4 separate regions of the Homo sapiens genome follow, and regions 2, 3 and 4 are each linked to region 1. Evidence: promoter capture Hi-C in 16 types of primary human blood cells and fetal thymus (Javierre and others, 2016). All regions are on one chromosome and are shown on one strand. Each heading gives the region's core, a stretch centred on a gene start or on the middle of the fragment in contact. The rest is flanking DNA. Distances are from core to core; before and after follow the strand shown.

Region 1 (3,259 bases), core at 234-2,733:
TTCTCCCAATCTACCCTTTCATAAATAACAAAATGGAATTTGAGTATTTTTTTTGCTTTGCTTCCTCATTAGTAATTTTGATTGTTATGAAGTTTTAGCATCCTCACTCATGAGATTTTCTTTACTACCCTATATAATATCAGTTCCTAGATGATAACCCTGTGTAATGATTCTCTATTGGAAGATCTTCAGTAACTGGAGCCTGCTGTAATAGCTTACCTGGACCTGTTTCACATGTAGTAGGGAACTGTTCAAGGCATGGACTTGAGTGATTTGGGTAAATCTGAGTTTCTTGGACCCACCAGTAAGGTCGATGACCAAATAATATCCTGTATTTAAAGAATTATAAACATGCATATATATTTAAATACACAGCTATTATTTAATTGGAGATTAGCAATTCTTTCCTATAAAAAATGACTCAAGCGCAGGGTTAATTGTGAAAGTTCATGATTAAGAGACTTTGAAAAAACTTAGGTCTTGGTCTCTCACACATTATTAAAGGTGGTAGCCATTTGGTATTTTGGCACCCTGGTTTCCCATGAACATGGGGGCTTTTTTCCCTTGCAGGGAATGTCTTATGGGTGCTTTGGATACTTAGACTGGAAATATCAAAATTTGTCCCTAGAATTATCAATTTGTTCATTATCACGCTGCTCATGTAAGTAATTCTTAATCACAGAATATGTGTTACAGGGGTTTGGGAATTACTTATAAGTCATTAAAGTACACATTTCTGGCCTGGCGTGGTGGCTCACACCTGTAATCCCAGCACTTTAGGAAGCCGAAGTCGGTGGATCACCTGAGGTCGGGAGTTAGAGACCAGCCTGACCAACATAGAGAAACCCTGTCTCTACTAAAAATACAAAATTAGCTGGGTGTGGTGGCACATGCCTGTAATCCCAGCTACTCGGGAGGCTGAGGTGAGAGAATTGCTTGAACCTGGGAGGCAGAGGTTGCAGTGAGCCGAGATCACGCCATTGCACTCCATCCTGGGCAACAAGGGCAAAACTCTGTCTCAAAAAAAAAAAAAAAACAAAAACATATATATACATTTCTGTGCCTTTTAAAAGTTCTACTTATGAATCTGGTGTTTCAAGTTACCTGGTATTTTTGAAAGATTTTCCAAGTAAAACGATATACATCTGAAATGTGATCATTATGCCGAAGTCACAAATTTAAGGATAAATCTTAGGAAAAAATGAAATAAAACAGAAATCTTACCATTTAAATATAAGATTTAACCAATCCCCAATGACTGCTACCCATATCATCTTGGTTCCAACTGTCTGATTAAATTGAAAACAAAGTGGAAAATAAATGAAAAAGATATTCCTGGGGTCTCCAACATTGGACATAAAATTTAGAAAAGTGTAGTAAGCTCGGTAGTCCTTCTGCAAATGCTGAATTATGAGCACTCCATTCCTGTGAAGGAAATCCATCTTGAAAAAGAGGCAATTCTAAACATAGAGCAATTGGAGCTGAAGTGCTCTGATTCCCACCGTTTTTATACTGTGCCTTTGTGGCATGTCGAGCCATTACTGCAACATGTGATGCTGACCATCTGTGGAGAGGGCACACCAGCCCTCCTCTGCTGAATAGCTCATCTATTTATGATTTTAATTGGTGGCAAAGAGTGAAGTACATGCTGATCTGTGGCAATTCGAGGGGGAAATTTGGATAGAAACACAATGAATTTCTTATGCAACCTCCCTTTTGTGCGAACAGTTGGATCATGTTTGCTTGAAATTTTTTGTACAGTTCATTTCCTCCAAGGTCAGACATTAGCAATTTCTATGTTTGGTGAAAAGACTTTGCAAATAATTATTGCATGTCAAATAGCCCATAAAGCCCTGCATTTTAATTTAAGATAGGCTGTGGCTCTCTATTTTATTGGGTCTTTGAGGAAAATGGTTGAATAAATATCTGGGTATGAAAAATATATGATATGACAGATTATGTTCTGATCACTGATTTAAAATAAGAATAGTTCAATTTTCTTTATCCAAGAGAATGATAGAATATATATGGAACAGGGAAAGAAATGTGTTGTTTTTTGACTATAAGACAAGAAAGCAGAAATGAAAGTCATTTGGATAATAGAAATGTGTTAGGATCAAATTGTATCTTTTATTAACTAGAGAATACAGTTGAGAGGAATAGGGAATGATTCATGTGACAAAGATAGGAATAGACATCAAAGGGCTTTTGACCAATCAGGAAAATGGTTTGTTGAGAACAGAGTGTTAAACAGAAGTGGAAAGCACCAAACAAATGCTAAGAATGAACAGAAGGGTAGCGCAAAGAGGCTGTGGATCTAAGTCATAGGTCCATAATCTACGGCTGTGGACTATGACTAGACTATAGACCAGGACTCTGGTCCTGGACTATAGACTACGACTGGACCCTGGACTATGGACCAGGGTAGACTGAGAATGAACAGAAGGGTAGCACAAAGAGGCTATGGATCTAAGTCAGAGAGATGTTGGGTTTAGAGAGCTGGATTGTGTCTAGGATTAGTGGGAAAGCAACAAAGCCTCACAAGGTGGCCAGGGATGGATCTAGGTAACCTTACTTGTTATTTTGTCATTCAGATTTTTGTCTTTGCTTACCATGGCCTAAGTAAAGACAAAAGACTTCACTAGAGTCCTTCACAGGCTATAACTATCACTTTGAACTTCTCTTCGAGTTTTGTGTCCCATCATTTAACAGCACCATTGTTACTGGGCTTCAGTGTCTATTGGTACCTTACCTGGAAGAAATGCATTGACTGACCATTAACATCTTTTGGGGTGCTTTTTAAATTGCCATAACTGTGTTCCACCTGAGATCAGTTATATTTCTGGTAATGGAATTTGGGCATTGGTATTATTAAAATACTTCTCAAGTGGTTCCAATGTGGTATAAGGGGCTTAGAATCATTGCACTAAGGCAATTCATATAAGGAATTATCCTTGACTAATTAGAGTCTATGCTTCTGGCTTTTCTTTGTTTTGCATATTCAGGTTCTGTAATTTCCATAATCTCTTTAATGAGCCATGAGGAAGAGCATAACTTCCCTTTATTCTTTTTCTAAAAAGTGTTTGATCTACGTAATTCATAATACTCATTTTCTTCAGAAATGTCTTATCCTTAAATCAGGATGTGAATGATATCAAATACATTTTGTCTTCCACTTAAAAATTAAACTTCCTGCTCTTCAGCACCTCAGAGTCTGTGATTAGCCTTTCATCTATGGTAGTTAATTTAGAAAGATTTT
Region 2 (3,259 bases), core at 513-3,012, 600 kb after region 1:
CTGTTGGGCTTTGCTGGATCACTGGATGGGCAGACTAAATGCATGCATGGGGCATCAAAGAGAGAGAGAGAGAGAGGAAGCTAGGTTCCACTTCAATGAATTTATCAGAACATTGCCATCTTGAAATCCAGAAAGAAACCGTTTATTTTCCCCTAAATGTAAAATTTGTATGTTCTGGCTGAATATCATTTTTATTTTTAGACATATGTGTTGGAAAAAGGGTACCAATTTGTTTTCAATGCTTAGAGGCTCTAAAAGAGACAAGCTTAGTGGGTATCATCCCACCCGGAGGAGATATAATTGTACCATCATTTCAGGCCACGTTGCTCAGGCAATAGTGCATTTCAGTTCTGATGTAATCAATATATGTTCTCAGCCATGCCAGCCAGGGACTCAGAGGAAAGAGAATTCCTGAGGAATTAGTGCTGACTACCCCACACATACCCCTGGGTTTCAGGCCGCTACAGAGATGCCCTTAGGTATTCCTGACAAATCAGGTCTGTAGTGTCTCTGCTGTTGCTGGAAGAACTCATTCATAGATCTTGCTAATGTACCACAGCTCGGCTCCTAAGGGATTTCACCCACTCAGGCTGCGCCAAGTGGGGAAGGTGTGAGTACACTGGGTCACCCTTTTCTGCAACTAGCATGCCTGCGTTTCAATGAACACTTTCTTCTCCTCTGTTAGCTGCTACTTTCTATCTTCATCAGTAGATTCTCAACCACATAAAATGAGCAATTGTCCTCTGAGGGCTTTTAACACACATTAAATTCTTTTTTTTTTTTTTTTTTTTGAGACAGAGTCTTGCTCTGTCACCCAGGCTGGAGTGCAGTGGCAGGATCTCGGCTCACTGCAATCTCTGCCTCCCAGGTTCAAGCAATTATTCTGCCTCAGCCTCCCAAGTAGCTGGGACTACAGGCGCGTGCCCACCACCCCTGGCTAATTTTTGTGTTTTTAGTAGAGACAGGGTTTGACCATATTGGCCAGGCTGGTGTCGAACTCCTGACCTTGTGATCCACCTGCCTCGGCCTCCCAAAGTGCTAGGATTACAGGCGTGAGCCACCGTGCCTGGCCACATACATCAAATTCTATGATTGATTTTATGTGCTGAAAGAAAGTTCTGTCTCCCACCAAGAGTTCAAAACATAGTCACTTTCCAAGTCTCTCAACCTTCAACCCCGTAAAAAAAAAAATATAAAATCTCTTTTAGCAAAACAACCCAGAATGTTAGTTTTATTTAAATAGACAAGAACGATGTCTTAAGTGAAACTATTGTGATGCTAGCAAAAGAGACATAGAGTTTTTCAATCCAAGTAACACCAGGGATGTGAATGGCCACTTTCCTCCTAAATTCTGGTCTTGGTTACAAGATATTTATGATACGAGTCTTATACAATGAATGCAGGCAATGATTCAGTTGACTTAATCTGGCAAGATTTTCCTTACGCATGATTATGAGTTTGGGACTTGAGCCAGCAATCAAAAAGGATTGTAAATTTAAATGATTACATCATCTAATAAAGTCTTATTTTTGGCTAGGACAGAGGCACCTTCTTCAAAATTTATTCTGAATACATTAGAGTCATTCTAGCTGTGTGACCTTGGGAAAATTACCTAATCTTTCTGCAGCTCTCTTTCTTCATCTGTGGAGTGAATAAATTATAATATCTACCTCATGGGCGTATTGTGTTAGTCTGTTGTCACACTGCAATCAAGACACAACCTAAAACTAGGTAATTTATAAAGAAAGGAGGTTTAATTGACTCACAGTTCCACATGTCTGGGGAGGCCTCAGGAAACTTACACTCATGGTGCAAGGCAAAGGGGAAGCAAGGCACGTCTTACACAGTGGCAGGAGAGCGGAAGTGCACAGGGGAATCTGCTACTTTTAAACCATCAGATCTCCTGAGAGCTCCCTTACTATCAGAACAGCATGGGAGAAATTGCCCCCATGGTACAATCGCTTCCCACCAGGTGCCTCCCTCTACAAGTGGGAATTACAATTCGAGATGAGATTTGGGTGGGGACACAGAGCCAAACCATATCATTTACTAAACAAGTTAACATATGTAAGGCATTTTGGCTCCCTGGCACAGGTAGAGTCTATATTAGGTATTATTGTGATTACTATTGCTAGTATTATTAGATTGATAGAGTGAAGCTGAAAAGATTTTACATTTATTTGAACTCATGTAATTATCTAGCTAATACAATTTCCACTTAAAGAATTTTGAAAGACATATTTTGTGTATTTAAACATTTTCCAAATAACTATCTTAAATCAAATATAAACCCCTTCAAGGAATAATTTCTTTTTAGAAGAAAAATATTTTGCAAATGAATGACTTATCTTTGGAGGATGAAGGTAGACCTAAAAATGGGAGAGAGAGGCTGGGTGTGGCGGCTCACACCTGTAATCCCAGCACTTTGGGAGGCCAAGGTGAGTGGATCACCTGAGGTCAGGACTTTGAGACCAGCCTGGCCAACATGGTGAAACCCCCTCTCTACTAAAAATACAAAAAAAATAGCCGGGGATGGTGGTGGGTGCCTGTAATCTCAGCTACTCAGGAGGCTGAGGCAGGAGAATTGCTTGAACCCAAGAGGTGAAGGTGGCAGTGAACCGAGATCGCGTGGGTGACAGAGAGAGACTCCATCTAAAAAAAAAAAAACAAAAAAACAAAAGTAAAGACACTAAATGAAAAATGTTGATATGAGCTCATAATTACTACTCGGGTCTTAAAGTTTTGTTTTTCATTGACCTGCATGAAGGTAGCCACATTTAAATACCTTGGAGATTTCTCACATATATTTTTTGTTTACCTCAATATCCCTTCGGTAATCTAAAAATCATTTTAAAATACTCTTTTAAGTTATAAGATATCTCTTGGAAAAATTATTTCTGTTTTAAAAATTAACAACCTTAGAATTTATGCTGTTTGCCATGACAGAGTGTTGGTACTAGACTAGTTCTCCTGTGGTAAAACACTAGAAAACTGGGGGAAGGATCTGAAACAACTGTCTTCAGATACCGGACTGCAGGCAGCACAGGACCAGTATCCCTGAAAGAAGGAAAACAAGCAAGGTAAATCCTACATTACCTAGATTTGTCACGTAGAGGCACCCTCCAGGCCCTCTTACAGAGAGTGCAAACTGAAGCAAAGCACAGGGTCTCACTGAGCTAAAAAGACAGATTTTAGGGAGGCTGAAGTGGCAGGAATTTGTGGCATGCAACTACACAGAATAAAATCTCCAGAAAGCTTC
Region 3 (3,259 bases), core at 470-2,969, 580 kb after region 1:
AGGAGGACCAGCCAGTTGTTTTTAATAAGCCTTCAGGTGATTCTGGTAGCCAAACTACTTGTAATAGTCGTCCCCAAACACTTCTCTTACTGCCAGCTGAATTTCTTCTCATATTATCTCCGCCTGCCAGGGATTACTCTCCCTTTCTGCCCATTCAGATCCTGTGTGGCCTCCAAGCCCCAAGTCGTTTGCTACCTTATTCATACAGCCACTGCAGAATTTCCTGTTAGAAATCCCTTTCCCAGCTTTGGACACAGATGCGTCCCCCTACCCTTTTTTTTTTTTTGAGACAAGGTTTCACATTATCAGCCAGGCTGGGGTGCAGGGACACACTCACTGCAGCCTCAACTTCCTGGGCTTTAGCAATCCTCTCACCTCAGCCTCCCAAGTAGCTGGGACTACAGGCATGTGCCACCACACCCAGCTATTTTTTTTATTTTTGTGGAGACAGGCTCTTACTATGTTAGTCTGAAACTCCTGAGTTCAAGCGATTCTCCCACCTTAGCCTCCCAAAGTGCTGGGATTATAGACATAAGCTACTGCGCCTAGCTGGATGGTTCCTTTTCTATGAGCCATTTGGCCATTTATCCTGCACTAACTCCTCTGTGTCTTGCACATAACTGGTAACGACTAAATTTTATTGATCTGAGTAGATTTGATTTACCGCTACTGGATTTAAAAGGCAGCTGAGGAACTCAAACTATAGCCCTGGTCCCTTCAGACCTGCTGAAGCTCCATATTTTTAATATACTCCCAAGTTATCGATAAGGATAACAAGACACTTCCGACAGAAATGCAGCCGTGATTTACCACCCCTGAACCAAAGGTGGATAGTGTGAAACGGTGTGAAAGTCAATTAGGTAGCACCCAGATGAATGTTCATTTCAGGAAATGAGTGAGGCTCAGCTGTAGCAACAGATGAGGAGTAGGGTGGAGAAGACAGATCCTTCCCTGCATCCACCAGAGGGAAAGGAGAGAACTAAAACACAGGTGCGAGCCTTTTGTTCTTTGGCGCATTCCCTGTGGGTTTATGGAGATGTCTGGGAGCACTTCCTTTTCCTTTCAAGCTTTATGACACACGTAATCTAAAACGATGGGGCAGCTTCCTTGCGATGACTCAAAAAGGAATAAGTAGTAAATTTCGTGTAGGAGGGTCGGCTAGGTTCAGTTAGACTTGCTACAAAGCCTGTGAGAACAAACAGTGGGAAAGTGAGATTTCATTTTTCCCCGAGATGCTGAAGAGTCTCCGTATCCCATAGGGAATGCTGTAATGTGTTCGTAATGGGAATATCTATCTTTATGTTCAAGTGTTGCCTAATTCACTAGCAAACAGGGAGGGAAATGCTTTTCTACACATAACTCCATAAGAGGATTCATTAGAAATACTGTTTTAGAATTAATGAAATGCTGAATGATTTTCCATCCTTCTTCCTAATAGTTGGTTAATGAGGATGAAAAGCAATTATTTTTTATAACACATTTTCATGTAATCGGTGGCTAAGTGTACTCAGTAGAGAATAATGAATATACCAGTTTGCAGTGAGTTTCTTTGAATGGAAACAGTAGAATTGGGAAGACTGTGGAAAATTTTACCCTTTAGGCTACAAGCACAAATTTTCCTCCATCAATCATTATATGTGATTTCCAATATGTTCAGTATTGAAAGTGGGTATTATTATTCCTTTAAAAAGGCATAATTCTTTGAGATCTCTGCATTTGGGATGAGTTTATAGTGTTGCTGCAAATTTGAAGGCTGAAAACAGTGATAGGAAAAACATGTTTGTTTTTTAAAGTTGGCTATTTTTAGCTATGTAGGCTAAATGAAAAGGCAATCATATTTAAAATTATGCTACCATGTTTTTCTTTGATGTATGAAAGAAAGCTGTTCACTAAATGAAATTCACAACTAGTCAGTGCAGGTGGGGGGCAGGGAACTTTTTAGTCTAAGAAAATGTTTCAAATCTTCAGGCCAAGATGCTCATGAGGAGGACAATCTCCCAGTGTTTACAGACTGTGATCACAACCGCCAATAATCATTTGGAACCTTCTAGGAAACTACTCTGGTTTATGTCCCTGAAGACTAATTTCTAGCTTCTAGAAAACGGTGTGAAATGTACACTAGAATATTCAGACCACTTACTAGTTTCTGTTGATCTTTTTAATATAACTATTTTCATAATTACATTTATATCGCTTTAAGGCTCTCCTTTCACCCTCCCCACCCACCTCCAATATTCTCTTGAAGTTCTTTCTGCTGTTGATGGAGAGTATTCTGCCTGGGGAGCTGTCTGATTCAAAGCCAAGTTTGGAGTTGTACAAAGGAGGGGCCATGGGTGTTTACTGCAGATGTAGGGATCAAGGGAAAGCTTCTCCTCTGCCTTCTGAAGGTTTGCTGAAAATGAACTCAAAATAGGCAGATTAATGGGAAAAAAACCTGGACTGAGTAGTTTGGGTTTCATTTACTGAAAACAGCTTCCTGTCATGCATCAAAGAAAAAAAAAGTGTAGCATAATTTTAAATACAAATTTGTGGATGTACATGGACACAGAAGCCTTGCAAATATGAGACTCAGAGAAGGGCCAGATTATTGAGGCTTAAATACCCTCTTCATATTGTCACCGCCTTCATAATATTGTGACAGAGAAATCTGACATAGCCGACCCCATCTTGCTTCTAACCTCCAAGCTGTTCTTATTCATTCCTGGGCGTAGATCAAACTAACTTGGGGAGGGATTTAGTTTTTAGTTTAACCTTAAAGCAAGGATGATAATAGCCCTTCCCAAAACTGCCCCCTTCTTGTTTGGGGACCAAAACCACCTTTATAAAACCAATGAAAGGCTACAAGACTAGGATTATGGGAATGGCCTGAACTCTGCTAAAATACGGGTGTAGTTAAAGGATAATCAGCCATTGTTGCCAGAGGTCACAAGATTTGTAACCTCCCCAACTGTTTCTGTAGATAGCATCACTATTTTAAAACCTAAAATTGGTGTTTGAGGTATTTTTCAGACACTGCATTCTGATGGAACAGCTTTTGCCACCCATACTGGTAACCCATACCAAGAAACTGGCTTATTTGGTCTTCTGATCCCACCCAGGAATTGATTCAGTACAAGAAGACAGCTTCAGCCTCCTATGATTCCATCCCCAACCCAACCAATCATCATTTCCTACCCCCTAGACCCCTACCCACCAAACTATCCTTGAAAAACCCTAGCCTCTGAATTTTCAGGGAAGCCGATTTGGATAATAAACTTCT
Region 4 (3,259 bases), core at 415-2,914, 550 kb after region 1:
GGGAATGACAGATGTGTTCACTATCTTGATTGTTGTGACAATTTTGTGGGTATATGCATAAGTCAAAATTTTTCAAATTTTACATTTTAAGTACTTGCAGTATATGAGAGTTTGGGTTTCTCCACATCCTCCTCAATATTTGGTGTGGTCAGTCTTTCTAATTTTGTTAATTTAATGGATATGTGGTGATATCCATGATAGTTTGAATTTGCATTTCCATAATAACTACAGATGTTGAACATCTTTTCCTGTGCTTATTTGCTACCAATATACTTTCTTTGGTGAAGTGTCTATTTAAATTTTCTTCCTTTTTCATTTGTTTTTTTCTCCTATTGTTGAATTTTGAGAGTTTTTAGATATTTTTGATAAAAGTTATTTATCAGATACATGATTTGCAAATATTTTCACCCAGTATGTGCTTTTGGTATTTTGTGCAAGAAATCTTTGCTTAACCCAAGGCTGCAAAAATGTTATCATATGTTTTCTTCTAGAAGTATTATAGTTTTTGGATTTTACACTTAGGTCTATTGTTCACTTTGAGTTAATTTTTGTATATGGTACAACATGTGGATCAAAGTTCATTTATTTTGCACATAGATATTCCCTTTTTTCCAGAACCATTTGTTGAAAGGCTACATTTTTGTCCAAGAACTGGGCTTTAAACTTTGTCAACAACCAAGTTTTCATTTATGTTTGGGTCTGTTTCAGGACTCTATTCTGTTCCCTTGGTCTACTTGTCTAACTTGACTCCAGTACCACAGTATCTTGCTGTAGCTTTATAAACTTTGAAATCAGGTAATTTTTAGTGTTCTCAACTTTTTCCTTCTTTTCAAAATTGTTTTAACTAGTCTAGGTCCTTGGTATAGCCATATAAATGTCAGAATCAGCTTGTCAATTTGTACCAAAAAAGTGTGCCAAGATTTTGATTGAGATTGTGTTTAATCTATAGACCAATTTGAGGATAATTTTAACTTAGCAATATCAAGTCTTCAATACCATGATATCTTTATTTATTTAGATCTGCTTTAATTTATTTTGGCAATGTTTTGTAGCTTTCAGCATATAGGTCTTGCACATATCTTGTCAAATTTACATCTATGTATCATATTTTTATGCTACTGTAAGCAGCATTGTTTTATTTAAATTTCTGATAGTTTGTTGCAGGTACATAGAAACGCAACTGATTCTTGCTTGCTGATCCTGTATCCAGCAACCTTGCTCATTTATTAGTTTTAGGAGCTTTTTAAGATTTGCTCAGATTTCCTATGTAAGCTATCACATTATCTGGGAATAAAGGGAGTTTTACTTCTTCCTTTCCAATCTGAACATCTGTTATTCTTTTTTCTTTTTTTTTTTTTTTCATTATTGCCCAAGCTAGAGTCTCAAGCACACTTAAATAGAAGTGGTGAGAGCAGACATTCTTGTCTTGGTCCTGACCTTAGTGGGAGAGTATTCAGTATTTCATCATTAAGTATGATGTATGGCTATAGTTTATTTCATAGATTCCCTTTATCAGGTTAAAGACATTCCCTTCTTATCCAAATTTGCTGAGAGATTTTTAATGAGAAACAGATGTCATGTTTTGTCAAATGCTTTTCTGTGCCTATTTGGTCTGTTTATATGGTGAATTACATTAAGTTGATTTTCAAATGTTAAATTCTTGGATTCCTCAGATAAATAGCATGTGGTCATGTTGTAGCCTTCTTTTTCTAAATTATTACATATGATTCCCAAAGTGGTTGTTTTTTTTTTTTTTTTTTTTTTTTTTTGAGACGGAGTCTCACTCTGTCGCCCAAGCTGGAGCGCAGTGGCCTCGCTGCAAGCTCCGCCTCCCAGGTTCACACCATTCTCCTGCCTCAGCCTTCCAAGCAGCTGGGACGACAGGCGTCCGCCACTATGCCCGGCTAATTTCTTTTGTATTTTTAGTAGAGATGGGGTTTCACCGTGTTAGCCAGGATGGTCTCGATCTCCTGACCTCGTGATCCGCCCATCTCGGCCTCGCAAAGTGCTGGGATTACAGGCGTGAGCCACCGCGCCTGGCCAGCACACACCTCTGTTTTAAAGTAAAAAGCACAAAACAAAGTAAATCCAGAAAAGGATTGCTTTCATGTGCTTTCTACCCCATTTCCTCCCTCCCTATATAAGAGGTAATTGTTTTTGTCAGATTTTGTCTCATCCTTTCATTGTTAATTTTTGAAAATATAAGCAAATACAATTATATAGTTCCTTAACCAAAAGATAGCACACAATAAACACAGTTCTGCTCTGCTTGTAGGTTAGAATTTTGATTCCTGTTAAATTGCAACTCTTCTAGGAAAAATAAGGAGGTACATGTTAAATAAAGAGGTGCATGTTAAACTATCACTAGTTTCACACTTTGGTAGAAATTAGTTTCCTTGTCTTTTTTGAGAGCTGGGAAGTGTCTGAATGAGATTGAAAAGTTTCCTTTGAGAATAGGGATGAATTCAGGAATCTCGGAGCGTCACAAGCAAACTTCACTTTTACTTGGCATCAGAGGAGTGGGAAGGCAGGTGCTGGCAACCTGTTGAGGTGGCAAGGCTGCATGGATGAGTGCTCAAGTGCTGGCTTATACAGTATAAATCCAGCTACTTTCATTGTTATAAAACTGCTGGCCATCAGAGGGGGTAATTAGAGTTTTATGTTTTAGTTGGACTTCTCAGCTGAATTAAATGTGATAAGGCTGTGCTTATCACTCTTGTGAAAGTCATTTCTACAATATTTACACAAACTCTATGAGACTTAAATCTTTTATTGATTTTCTGTTTGTCTCTGATAATGTTTCACTGAGAGGAAATGACTGAGATCCTGGAATTCGCGTCTTTAACACATGACTGTTCCCAAAGTCATGAGTTGTTGTTGTTGTTGTTGTTGTTAACAAACCTCTTTATTTCCTACAATAAGTATATTCCATCTTGCATTTGCTTTAATAGATGAGAGTTTCCAATGTCATTAGTGATTTTTAGCACTTTATAGTACCATCATATTTTTATAACCAAGGCCAGGGAGATGAAAGGGGTATTGACAATATTTGTTGGCATTGGTTGTTGTCTTTGTAACCAGAACTGCCTCTTTTATTCTGTGCTTTTTCTAATTATTTCTGGTTATGATAATGTTTTTCTTTGGCTTCTAGGGGGAAGTATGTAATGATGTTTGTGACAAAAAATAAATGTGATCAACTGGTAAAAACAGCCTGATGTTGTGTCTTCAGTGAATGTTCCCACTAGCCAGGCTGAGCTTA

What was found. Contacts are between HindIII fragments. The CHiCAGO score rates a contact against its expected background, and 5 or more counts as called.
Region 2: a contact is called between a fragment that was not itself captured here and the fragment with the promoter of G6PC2 in region 1, in 1 of 17 cell types (total CD8 T cells). The highest score is 5.8, in total CD8 T cells.
Region 3: a fragment that was not itself captured here is called in contact with the fragment with the promoter of G6PC2 in region 1 in 4 of 17 cell types (neutrophils, naive CD8 T cells, fetal thymus and 1 more); the score reaches 5.6 in neutrophils.
Region 4: a contact is called between a fragment that was not itself captured here and the fragment with the promoter of G6PC2 in region 1, in 3 of 17 cell types (erythroblasts, naive CD8 T cells and naive CD4 T cells). The highest score is 8.4, in erythroblasts.

Annotation. Positions count from the first base shown.
Region 1 is chr2:168,899,515-168,902,773 of GRCh38, reverse strand. G6PC2 (glucose-6-phosphatase catalytic subunit 2) reads right to left here and starts at 1,483. Exons shown (of 5, transcript NM_021176.3): 1 at 1,225-1,483; 2 at 220-329. The coding sequence starts at 1,442. The HindIII fragment of the contact is 12,445 bases long and covers 1-3,259 here.
Region 2 is chr2:168,298,857-168,302,115 of GRCh38, reverse strand. No RefSeq gene overlaps it. Among named protein-coding and RNA genes, the nearest start is that of STK39, 53 kb to the right of the region's middle. The HindIII fragment of the contact is 2,990 bases long and covers 268-3,257 here.
Region 3 is chr2:168,321,570-168,324,828 of GRCh38, reverse strand. No RefSeq gene overlaps it. Among named protein-coding and RNA genes, the nearest start is that of STK39, 76 kb to the right of the region's middle. The HindIII fragment of the contact is 1,299 bases long and covers 1,070-2,368 here.
Region 4 is chr2:168,349,935-168,353,193 of GRCh38, reverse strand. It overlaps LOC105373734 (a long non-coding RNA gene), which reads left to right. Exons shown (of 6, transcript XR_923559.3): 3 at 3,152-3,259. Among named protein-coding and RNA genes, the nearest start is that of STK39, 100 kb to the right of the region's middle. The HindIII fragment of the contact is 9,034 bases long and covers 1-3,259 here.